3 separate regions of the Homo sapiens genome follow, and all the other regions are linked to region 2. The links are contacts of gene promoters, found by promoter capture Hi-C in human tissues and cell types (Jung and others, 2019). All regions are on one chromosome and are shown on one strand. Each heading gives the region's core, a stretch centred on a gene start or on the middle of the fragment in contact. The rest is flanking DNA. Distances are from core to core; before and after follow the strand shown. Region 1 overlaps GNA15 (G protein subunit alpha 15). Region 2 holds the start of ZNF554 (zinc finger protein 554). Region 3 has its middle 4.1 kb from the start of S1PR4.

What was found. The method cuts DNA at HindIII sites, captures the fragments that hold promoters and counts their contacts. A contact is called where the count stands out against the background at its distance.
Region 1: a contact is called between a fragment that was not itself captured here and the fragment with the promoter of ZNF554 in region 2, in 2 of the 25 tissues and cell types used here (dorsolateral prefrontal cortex and mesendoderm cells).
Region 3: a fragment that was not itself captured here is called in contact with the fragment with the promoter of ZNF554 in region 2 in 2 of the 25 tissues and cell types used here (H1 embryonic stem cells and mesenchymal stem cells).

What each region holds. Positions count from the first base shown.
Region 1 is chr19:3,155,301-3,158,202 of GRCh38, reverse strand. It overlaps GNA15 (G protein subunit alpha 15), which reads right to left. Exons shown (of 7, transcript NM_002068.4): 5 at 2,251-2,380; 6 at 322-475. Among named protein-coding and RNA genes, the nearest start is that of GNA15-DT, 1.6 kb to the right of the region's middle. RefSeq lists enhancers at 2,708-2,797, 2,838-2,902, 2,455-2,902. The HindIII fragment of the contact is 4,542 bases long and covers 1-2,902 here.
Region 2 is chr19:2,818,390-2,821,220 of GRCh38, reverse strand. It overlaps ZNF554 (zinc finger protein 554), which reads right to left and starts at 1,353. Exons shown (of 5, transcript NM_001102651.2): 1 at 1,097-1,353. The coding sequence starts at 1,149. RefSeq lists an enhancer at 249-942 and a silencer at 875-1,314. The HindIII fragment of the contact is 22,652 bases long and covers 1-2,831 here.
Region 3 is chr19:3,173,144-3,176,174 of GRCh38, reverse strand. No RefSeq gene overlaps it. Among named protein-coding and RNA genes, the nearest start is that of S1PR4, 4.1 kb to the left of the region's middle. The HindIII fragment of the contact is 3,498 bases long and covers 1-2,999 here.

The DNA.
Region 1 (2,902 bases), core at 365-2,864, 340 kb before region 2:
ACTCCAGCCTGGTGACAGAGCAAGACTCTGTCTCAAAAATAAATAAATAAATAAAATGTTTAAGGTGTACGTGATATGCTACGTGTTTTTAGAATTCCTCACTTTACTCAGTTCCAAGGGCCTCTGCTATTTTATTCCATTCCACAGAAGGGAAAACAGATTCAATGAGGTCGGGCAGTGGATGGAGCTGAGTCTAGAACGCGGGTCTGATCCTATGTGAAAGTTCCGGTGACTCCAGGCTGAAGTAGAGTCTGGATTAGCATCTCTCTTCGGAGCTGCTTTTGGGAGTTGAAGGGTATAGAAAGTTCTAGAATTACTTACCCTGGAAACTGGGGAAATAGGTAGCCAGGTGGGAGGTGGGGATTTTCTCCTCCAGGATGTCGGTTTTGTTGAGAAAGAGGATGACGGATGTGCTTTTGAACCAGGGTAGTTCCAGGATAGTCCCAAACAATGCGAGGCTCTCCTTCATGCGGTTCTGTGTTGGGGGCAGAAGCAGGTTAGTGCTTCAACCAGCCAGGTGGGACAGGAAACCCTCCCATCGCGGAGACGGGGCTGTTGGCTCCAGGGGCATGGGCTCACCCCTATCTGCCTGGCTGGGGCTGAGGCGGGTGTGCCCGTGTTTCCATATGGACAGCTGCCTGGGTGTGCCTGACATGGTTTTGTGCCTGTGCTGGTTGGAAGTGTGTCCTCCCGAAATTCATGTCCCCCCAGAGCTTCAGAGTGTGACCTTATCTGGAGAGAGATTCTTGAACTCCTGGCCTCCCAGCGTGCTGGGGTTATAGGCATGAACCACTGCACCTGGCCTGGAGATAGGGTCTTTGAAGAGGTCGTTAAGGTGAGGCAATACTAGAATACGGTGGCCCTCAAGTCCGTGACTGCTGTCCTCATAAGAAGAGGGAGACCTGGCCGGGCGCGGCAGCTCACGGCTGTAATCCTAGCACTTTGGGAGGCCAAGGCGGGCAGATCACCTGAGGCCAGGAGTTGGAGACCAGCCTGGCTAACATGGTGAAACCCCGTTTCTACTAAAAATACAAAAAATTAGCCGGGCATGATGGCAGGTGCCTGTAAACCCAGCTACTCGGGAGGCTGAGGCAGGAAAATCGCTTGAACCCGGGAGGCGGAGGTTGCAGTGAGCTGAGATCGCGCCACTGCACTCTAACCTGGGCGACAAAAGCGAGACTCCATCTCAAAAAAAAAAGTACAATAAGGTCTCAAATGCCTTGTGTTATGGGGTACATCATATTTCCCCAAAATTCATACGTTCAAGACCTAACCCCCTAGAACCTCAGTTTGTGACCTTCTTTGGAAACAGGGCCATCACACGAGGAATTAACCCAGATGAGGTCGTACTGGAGTAGGGTGGGCCCTGATCCTAGACGACTGGTGTACTTATTAAAAGAGGCTATTGGCTGGGCACAGTGGCTCACGCCTGTAATCCCAGCACTTTGGGAGGCCGAGGCGGGCGGATCACGAGGTCAGGAGATTGAGACCATCCTGGCTAACATGGTGAAACCCCCTCTCTTCTAAGAATACAAAAAAAAAATTAGCCGAGCGTGGTGGCGGGTGCCTGTAATCCCACCTACTCCGGAGGCTGAGGCAGGAGAATGGTGTGAACCCGGGAGGCGGAGTTTCCAGTGAGCCGAGATCGCGCCACTGCACTCCAGCCTGTGCGTGTGCGTGCATGTGTGTGTGCACGCATGTGTGTGCCTGTGTGCCTGTGTGTGCGTGTGTGTGCCTGTGTGTGCGTGTGCATGTGTGTACTGTGTGTGTGCATGTGTGTGTTCATGTGTGTGCGCATGTGTACATATGCGTGTATTGTGCACGTGAGTGCATGCAAGTGTGCATGTGTGTGGTGCATGTGTGTTCGTGTGCATGTGTTGTGCATGTGCACTGCGTGTGTACATGTGTCCCGTGTGTGCACGTGTGTATGTGCATGTATTATGCACGTGTCTGTGCGTGTTTGTGTGCATGCATTGTGTATGTGCGTGTGTGCACTGTAGTGTGTGTGTGTGTGTGTGTGTGTGTGTGTGTGTGTGTGTCTGGGGTCCTGACCAAACAAATGCTGTAGGTCTGTGTCTTGGGTTGCTGCAATCTGACCACAAAAGGCTGAAGGGTCAAGTTCATAGCCATGCTGGGCACACACAGGCCCGTTCAAGAGCAGGGATCCCTCCCTTTCTGCACCAGAGCTTCCTGCTCAGGTGAGGGTCCCTGGGCCAACAAGTGGGCAGGGCGAGGGAGGCGGTGGCGCACCTCCTGGTTGTTCTCCTCCAGGCACTGGTCGTATTCACTCAGTGAGGCCAGGTAGATGAGGGCGATCACGTTCTCGAAACAATGGATCCATTTCTTACGCTCTGACTTCTGGCCCCCGACGTCCACGATCCTACAGGGAACCGAGGTGCCCCCTTTCAGAGCTCAGGAGCCTGCTCCGTGACACCCCCAACCCCCATCACGTCTGGGATATGCCAAGATCCATAATAGCGACAGCAAGAATAGGTGCTAGCCTCTCGTGGATTTGCCATGTCATTCCCGCGAGGCAAGGATGAGTCTTACGCCCATTTTACAGATGAGAAGCCTGAGATCCAGGGAGGAGCGGGGACTTTCCCAAGCTTCTACTGTGCTGGGCTGCCTGCTTTCTACCCCCATATTAGAGGGGAGCAGGTTGGACAGATCTGAGATGTGCCCTGGTGCTGGCTGGGCGACCCGGCGGAGGAAATTGCCAAACATCTCCAAAACTCAGTTTTCCCATCTGTGCTATGGGGCTCCTGTGCTCTGGCTGGCCATGGGCATGTCCAGTGGCCACACAGATGGGAATGAGGGCTGTTCCCAGAGCACACGTCCTCCCCTCCATCTGTGACTCAGCCCCACGCACCGTAACAAAAGCCTGAACCCTGCCCCCACCTTC
Region 2 (2,831 bases), core at 104-2,603:
CAGCTACTTGGGAGGCTGAGGCAGGAGAATCACTTGAACCCACGAGGTGGATGCAGTGAGCCGAGATCGTGCAACTGCACTCCAGCCTGGGCAATAGGGCGAGACTGTCTCAAGAAAAAAAAAAGAAGAAGAAAAAGAAACCAACCTGTTTGGGTAGGGGAGAGTTCAGGGAGGTTGGGGTTGCTAGAGCAGCAGAAAGGTCAGCTGCCTCCCTCATTCCTCAACATGGGTGGTGGGTATAAACAGAATAGACCCTTGCAGCTGCGCGGTGGCTCACGCCTGTAATCCCAGCACTTTGGGAGGCTGAGGCGGGTGGATCACCTGAGGTGGGAGTTCGAGACCAGCCTGGCCAACATGGTGAAACCCCGTCTCTACTAAAAATGCAAAAATTAGCCGGGCGTGGTGGCATACGCCTGTAATCCCAGCTACTTGGGAGGCTGAGGCAGGACAATGGCTTGAACCCGGGAGGCGGAGGTTGCAGTGAGCCGAGATCATGCCATTGCACTCCAGACTCCGTCTCAAAAAAAAAAAAAAAAGGACCCTTGCTGTCTTATCACCAGGACAGCGGTGCTAACGTATAAGTGAGGTCTCTCCCTCAGGGCGCTGTGGACACTGGAGCCTGGGTCATTCTCTGGGCTGGGCAGGGTGCTGAGTTGCATCCCTGGCCTCCACCTACTCCATGCCAGGAACTGCCCCCAGTTATGACAACCACAGACGTCCCCAGACATCGCCCGGTGTCCCCTGGAGGGCAGGACCGCCCCTCGCTCAGACCCTCTGATGTGGCCTCACTGCAGTGCGAGCGTGGCAGCCCCTCTCTGCCTTTAGGGTAGAGTCAATGCGTCTTCTCCCTCTCCTTGCAGGCTGGGCCTCGGAAAGCTTATGCGTCTCTCACCCAGGGGCGTTTTCACAGGGCAAGGGCAGACCGTGCCATCCTGGGCGTTGGGGCCCTGGGCGAGCTGCCGGCTCCCGACCCTCCCGTGGGGACCCTATCGCGACAGGGTCATGCCCCGGCCACCCGGCCCCGCCAGACCCAGCCCCACCAGAGCCCCGGCAGGCCCGGCACGGAGGTCGCGGCGCGGGAGGCGGCGGCACTTACGGCTGAGCTGCCGGGAGCCGCGCGCGCCGGCCCAGGTGGGCGCAGGTGACCATCGGGGCGCGCGCTGAGGCGCCAGACAGGGCCCCCGAGGCGGGAGCGCCCCGTGCAGGCCGGCCGGCCTCCCCTGCGTGTCCCTGGGACGCCTCCTCCGCTCGGCTCCTCGGCGCTCGGAGCGGACGCCCCCCGCAGGCGCCCCTCAGGAACTCGCCGCAGCCGCCGCCACCAACCCCGACGCGCGCAGAGGTAAACTCGGCACTGCGCCTGCGCACCCCGAACCTGCGAACTACAAGTCCCAGCAGGCCCCGCAGCGCGGCGCTGGGCTCCTGACTCTCCAACCTGGGTCACAGCGCCGCCTCCGGGCGGGCGGCGTCTCCGCAGGACCACGATGCCCCTGCGGCTGTTGGATCCACCCCGTGTGGTTCGCTGGAGTCCCCGGGTGTTGTGGGGTTCGCGGAGCCAATCCTCAAATCCCAGCTCCGTCGTTTCCCGGCGGCTTGCCATTGGATATTAATAACTACTATTATTTATTAAGCAAGTTATATAAACGTATAATGTATTACATACTTATTAAAATGATTGCTTAAGTAATTGTTGTTTGTTTTTGAGACTGAGTTTCGCTCTTGTCGCCCAGGCTGGAGTGCAATGGCATGATCTCAGGTCACTGAAACCTCCGCCCCCTCGGGTTCAAGCGATTATCCTGCCTCAGTCTCCCAAGTAGCTGGGATTACGGGCGTGCACAACCACACTCGGCTAATTTTTTATATTTTTGGTAGCGACGCGGTTTCACCATGTTGGCCAGGCTGGTCTCGAACTCCTGACTTCCAGTGATCTGCCCGCCTTGGCCTCCCAAAGTGCTGGGATTACAGGCGTGAGCCACCACGCCCAGCCAAATTAAATTATTGTTTAAATATTTATTTAATATTCTACTGATTGTTATTTATGAGAAATTAAAATAGTAAAACTACTATAATTAATATACTGTTGTAGGATACAACAAATTCCTCTTCAAAGGTTTTAGCCTGTAAATTGTTAAGTACAATCAGTTATGAGCTCCTCTCCAAAGAACCAATGTTTCCGTATATTCAGCTCCCCTGTTCTTTTTTTTTTTTTTTTTGAGATGGAGTCTCGCTCTGTCGCCCAGGCTGGAGTGCAGCGGCGCGATCTCGGCTCACTGCAAGCTCCGCCTCCCAGGTTCACGCCATTCTCCTGCCTCAGCCTCCCAAGCAGCTGGGACCACAGGCGCCCGCCACCACGCCCGGCTAATTTTTTTGTATTTTTAGTAGAGACGGAGTTTCACCGTGTTAGCCAGGATGGTCTCGATCTCCTGACCTCGTGATCCGCCTGCCTCAGCCTCCCAAAGTGCTGGGATTACAGGCGTGAGCCACCGCGCCCGGCCACCTATTCTTTGTTCTTCATTTTAAACTTTAACTTCCTCGTTCTTTTCGTTTCCTTGCCCCTAGTTTCAGTAAACAACCCCTCCTAGCCCCTATCACCTGCTCTGACCTTAGTCACCCTTGGTCACCTGCTCTGACCTTAGTCATCCTTGGTCACCTGCTCTGACCTTAGTCATCCTTGTCACCTGCTCTGACCTTAGTCATCCTTGGTCACCTGCTCTGACCTTAGTCATCCTTGGTCACCTGCTCTGACCTTAGTCATCCTTGTCACCTGCTCTGACCTTAGTTATCCTTGGTCACCTGCTCTGTTCTTAGTCACCCTTGTCACCTGCTCTGACCTT
Region 3 (3,031 bases), core at 1-2,500, 360 kb before region 2:
GTTAGCAATAACGTGAACGTGTGAACAATCAAGCAGCTGGCCAATCGTTTCCTCCCCCTGCTTTCTACCCAATAAGTACGAAGGGCTGTAGAAGCTTGGGGGGCTGCCTTTGCTCACTAGAAGCAGGGAGCTCTCTTTTTCTTCCCCTGGTCCCTTCCTTTAAAACAGTTTCTTCTGTCTTAAGTTTTCATTTCTACATTCGTCCCTTCGTTCAGTCTTGTAATGATGGTCTCAAGTAGTAACAATAGTAACTGTCGTAGTGACAGTCTCAGGTAGTAATCATGGCAACCACACACAGGCGTCCCATGAAGGGTACAGGCATCCCATGAGGGCACAGGTGTCCCATGAGAATGCAGGCGTCCCATGAGGGGCACAGGCATCCCATGAGAACACAGGCATCCCATGAGGGGCACAGGCGTCCCATGAGGGTACAGGCATCCCATGAGGGCACAGGTGTCCCATGAGAATGCAGGCGTCCCATGAGGGCACAGGCATCCCATGAGGGGCACAGGCATCCCATGAGAGCACAGATGTCCCATGAGGGGTACAGGCGTCCCATGAGGGTACAGGCATCCCATGAGAACACAGGCGTCCCATGAGGGGTACAGGCATCCCATGAGGGCACAGGCATCCCATGAGAACACAGGTGTCCCATGAGAACACAGGTGTCCCATGAGGGCACAGGCGTCCCATGAGAATGCAGGCGTCCCATGAGAACGCAGGCGTCCCATGAGGGCACAGGCGTCCCATGAGGGCACAGGTGTCCCATGAGGGGCACAGGCGTCCCATGAGAACACAGGCGTCCCATGAGGGGCACAGGCGTCCCATGAGAACACAGGCGTCCCATGAGGGCACAGGCGTCCCGTGAGAACACAGGTGTCCCATGAGGGGCACAGGCGTCCCATGAGAACACAGGCGTCCCATGAGGGCACAGGCGTCCCATGAGAACACAGGTGTCCCATGAGGGGCACAGGCGTCCCATGAGAACACAGGCGTCCCATGAGGGCACAGGCGTCCCATGAGAACACAGGTGTCCCATGAGGGGCACAGGCGTCCCATGAGAACACAGGCGTCCCATGAGGGCACAGGCGTCCCATGAGGGGCACAGGCGTCCCATGAGAACACAGGCGTCCCATGAGGGCACAGGCGTCCCATGAGGGCACAGGTGTCCCATGAGGGGCACAGGCGTCCCATGAGAACACAGGCGTCCCATGAGGGGCACAGGCGTCCCATGAGAACACAGGCGTCCCATGAGGGCACAGGCGTCCCATGAGAACACAGGCGTCCCATGAGGGGCACAGGCGTCCCATGAGAACACAGGCGTCCCATGAGAACACAGGCGTCCCATGAGGGCACAGGCGTCCCATGAGGGCACAGGCGTCCCATGAGAACACAGGCGTCCCATGAGGGCACAGGCGTCCCATGAGGGCACAGGCGTCCCATGAGAACACAGGCGTCCCATGAGGGCACAGGCGTCCCATGAGGGCACAGGCGTCCCATGAGGGCACAGGCGTCCCATGAGAACACAGGCGTCCCATGAGGGGCACAGGCGTCCCATGAGAACACAGGCGTCCCATGAGGGCACAGGCGTCCCATGAGGGGCACAGGCGTCCCATGAGAACACAGGCGTCCCATGAGGGCACAGGCGTCCCATGAGGGCACAGGCGTCCCATGAGAACACAGGCGTCCCATGAGGGCACAGGCGTCCCATGAGAACACAGGCGTCCCATGAGGGCACAGGTGTCCCATGAGAACACAGGCGTCCCATGAGAACACAGGTGTCCCATGAGGGCACAGGTGTCCCATGAGAATTCAGGCGTCCCATGCGGGGCACGGGCATCCCATGAGAACACAGGCATCCCATGAGGGGCACAGGCGTCCCATGAGGGTACAGGCATCCCATGAGAACACAGGCGTCCCATGAGGGCACAGGCATCCCATGAGGGGCACAGGCATCCCATGAGGGCACAGATGTCCCATGAGGGGTACAGGCGTCCCATGAGGGTACAGGCATCCCATGAGAACACAGGCGTCCCATGAGGGGTACAGGCATCCCATGAGGGCACAGGCATCCCATGAGAACACAGGTGTCCCATGAGAACACAGGTGTCCCATGAGGGCACAGGCGTCCCATGAGAATGCAGGCGTCCCATGAGAACACAGGTGTCCCATGAGGGCACAGGCGTCCCATGAGGGCACAGGCGTCCCATGAGAACACAGGTGTCCCATGAGAGGCACAGGCGTCCCATGAGAACACAGGCGTCCCATGAGGGCACAGGCGTCCCATGAGAACACAGGTGTCCCATGAGGGGCACAGGCGTCCCATGAGAACACAGGCGTCCCATGAGGGCACAGGCGTCCCATGAGAACACAGGCGTCCCATGAGGGGCACAGGCGTCCCATGAGAACACAGGCGTCCCATGAGGGCACAGGAGTCCCATGAGAACACAGGCGTCCCATGAGGGGCACAGGCGTCCCATGAGAACACAGGCGTCCCATGAGGGCACAGGCGTCCCATGAGGGCACAGGCGTCCCATGAGGGGCACAGGCGTCCCATGAGAACACAGGCGTCCCATGAGGGCACAGGCGTCCCATGAGGGCACAGGCGTCCCATGAGGGGCACAGGCGTCCCATGAGAACACAGGCGTCCCATGAGGGCACAGGCATCCCATGAGGGCACAGGCATCCCATGAGGGCACAGGCGTCCCATGAGAACACAGGCGTCCCATGAGGGCACAGGCGTCCCATGAGAACACAGGCGTCCCATGAGAACACAGGCATCCCATGAGGTCACAGGCGTCCCATGAGGGCACAGGCATCCCATGAGGGCACAGGCGTCCCATGAGAACACAGGCGTCCCATGAGGGCACAGGTGTCCCATGAGAACACAGGTGTCCCATGAGGGCACAGGCATCCCATGAGGGGCACAGGCATCCCATGAGAACACAGGCATCCCATGAGGGGCACAGGCGTCCCATGAGAACACAGGCATCCCATGAGGGGCACAGGCATCCCATGAGAACACAGGCGT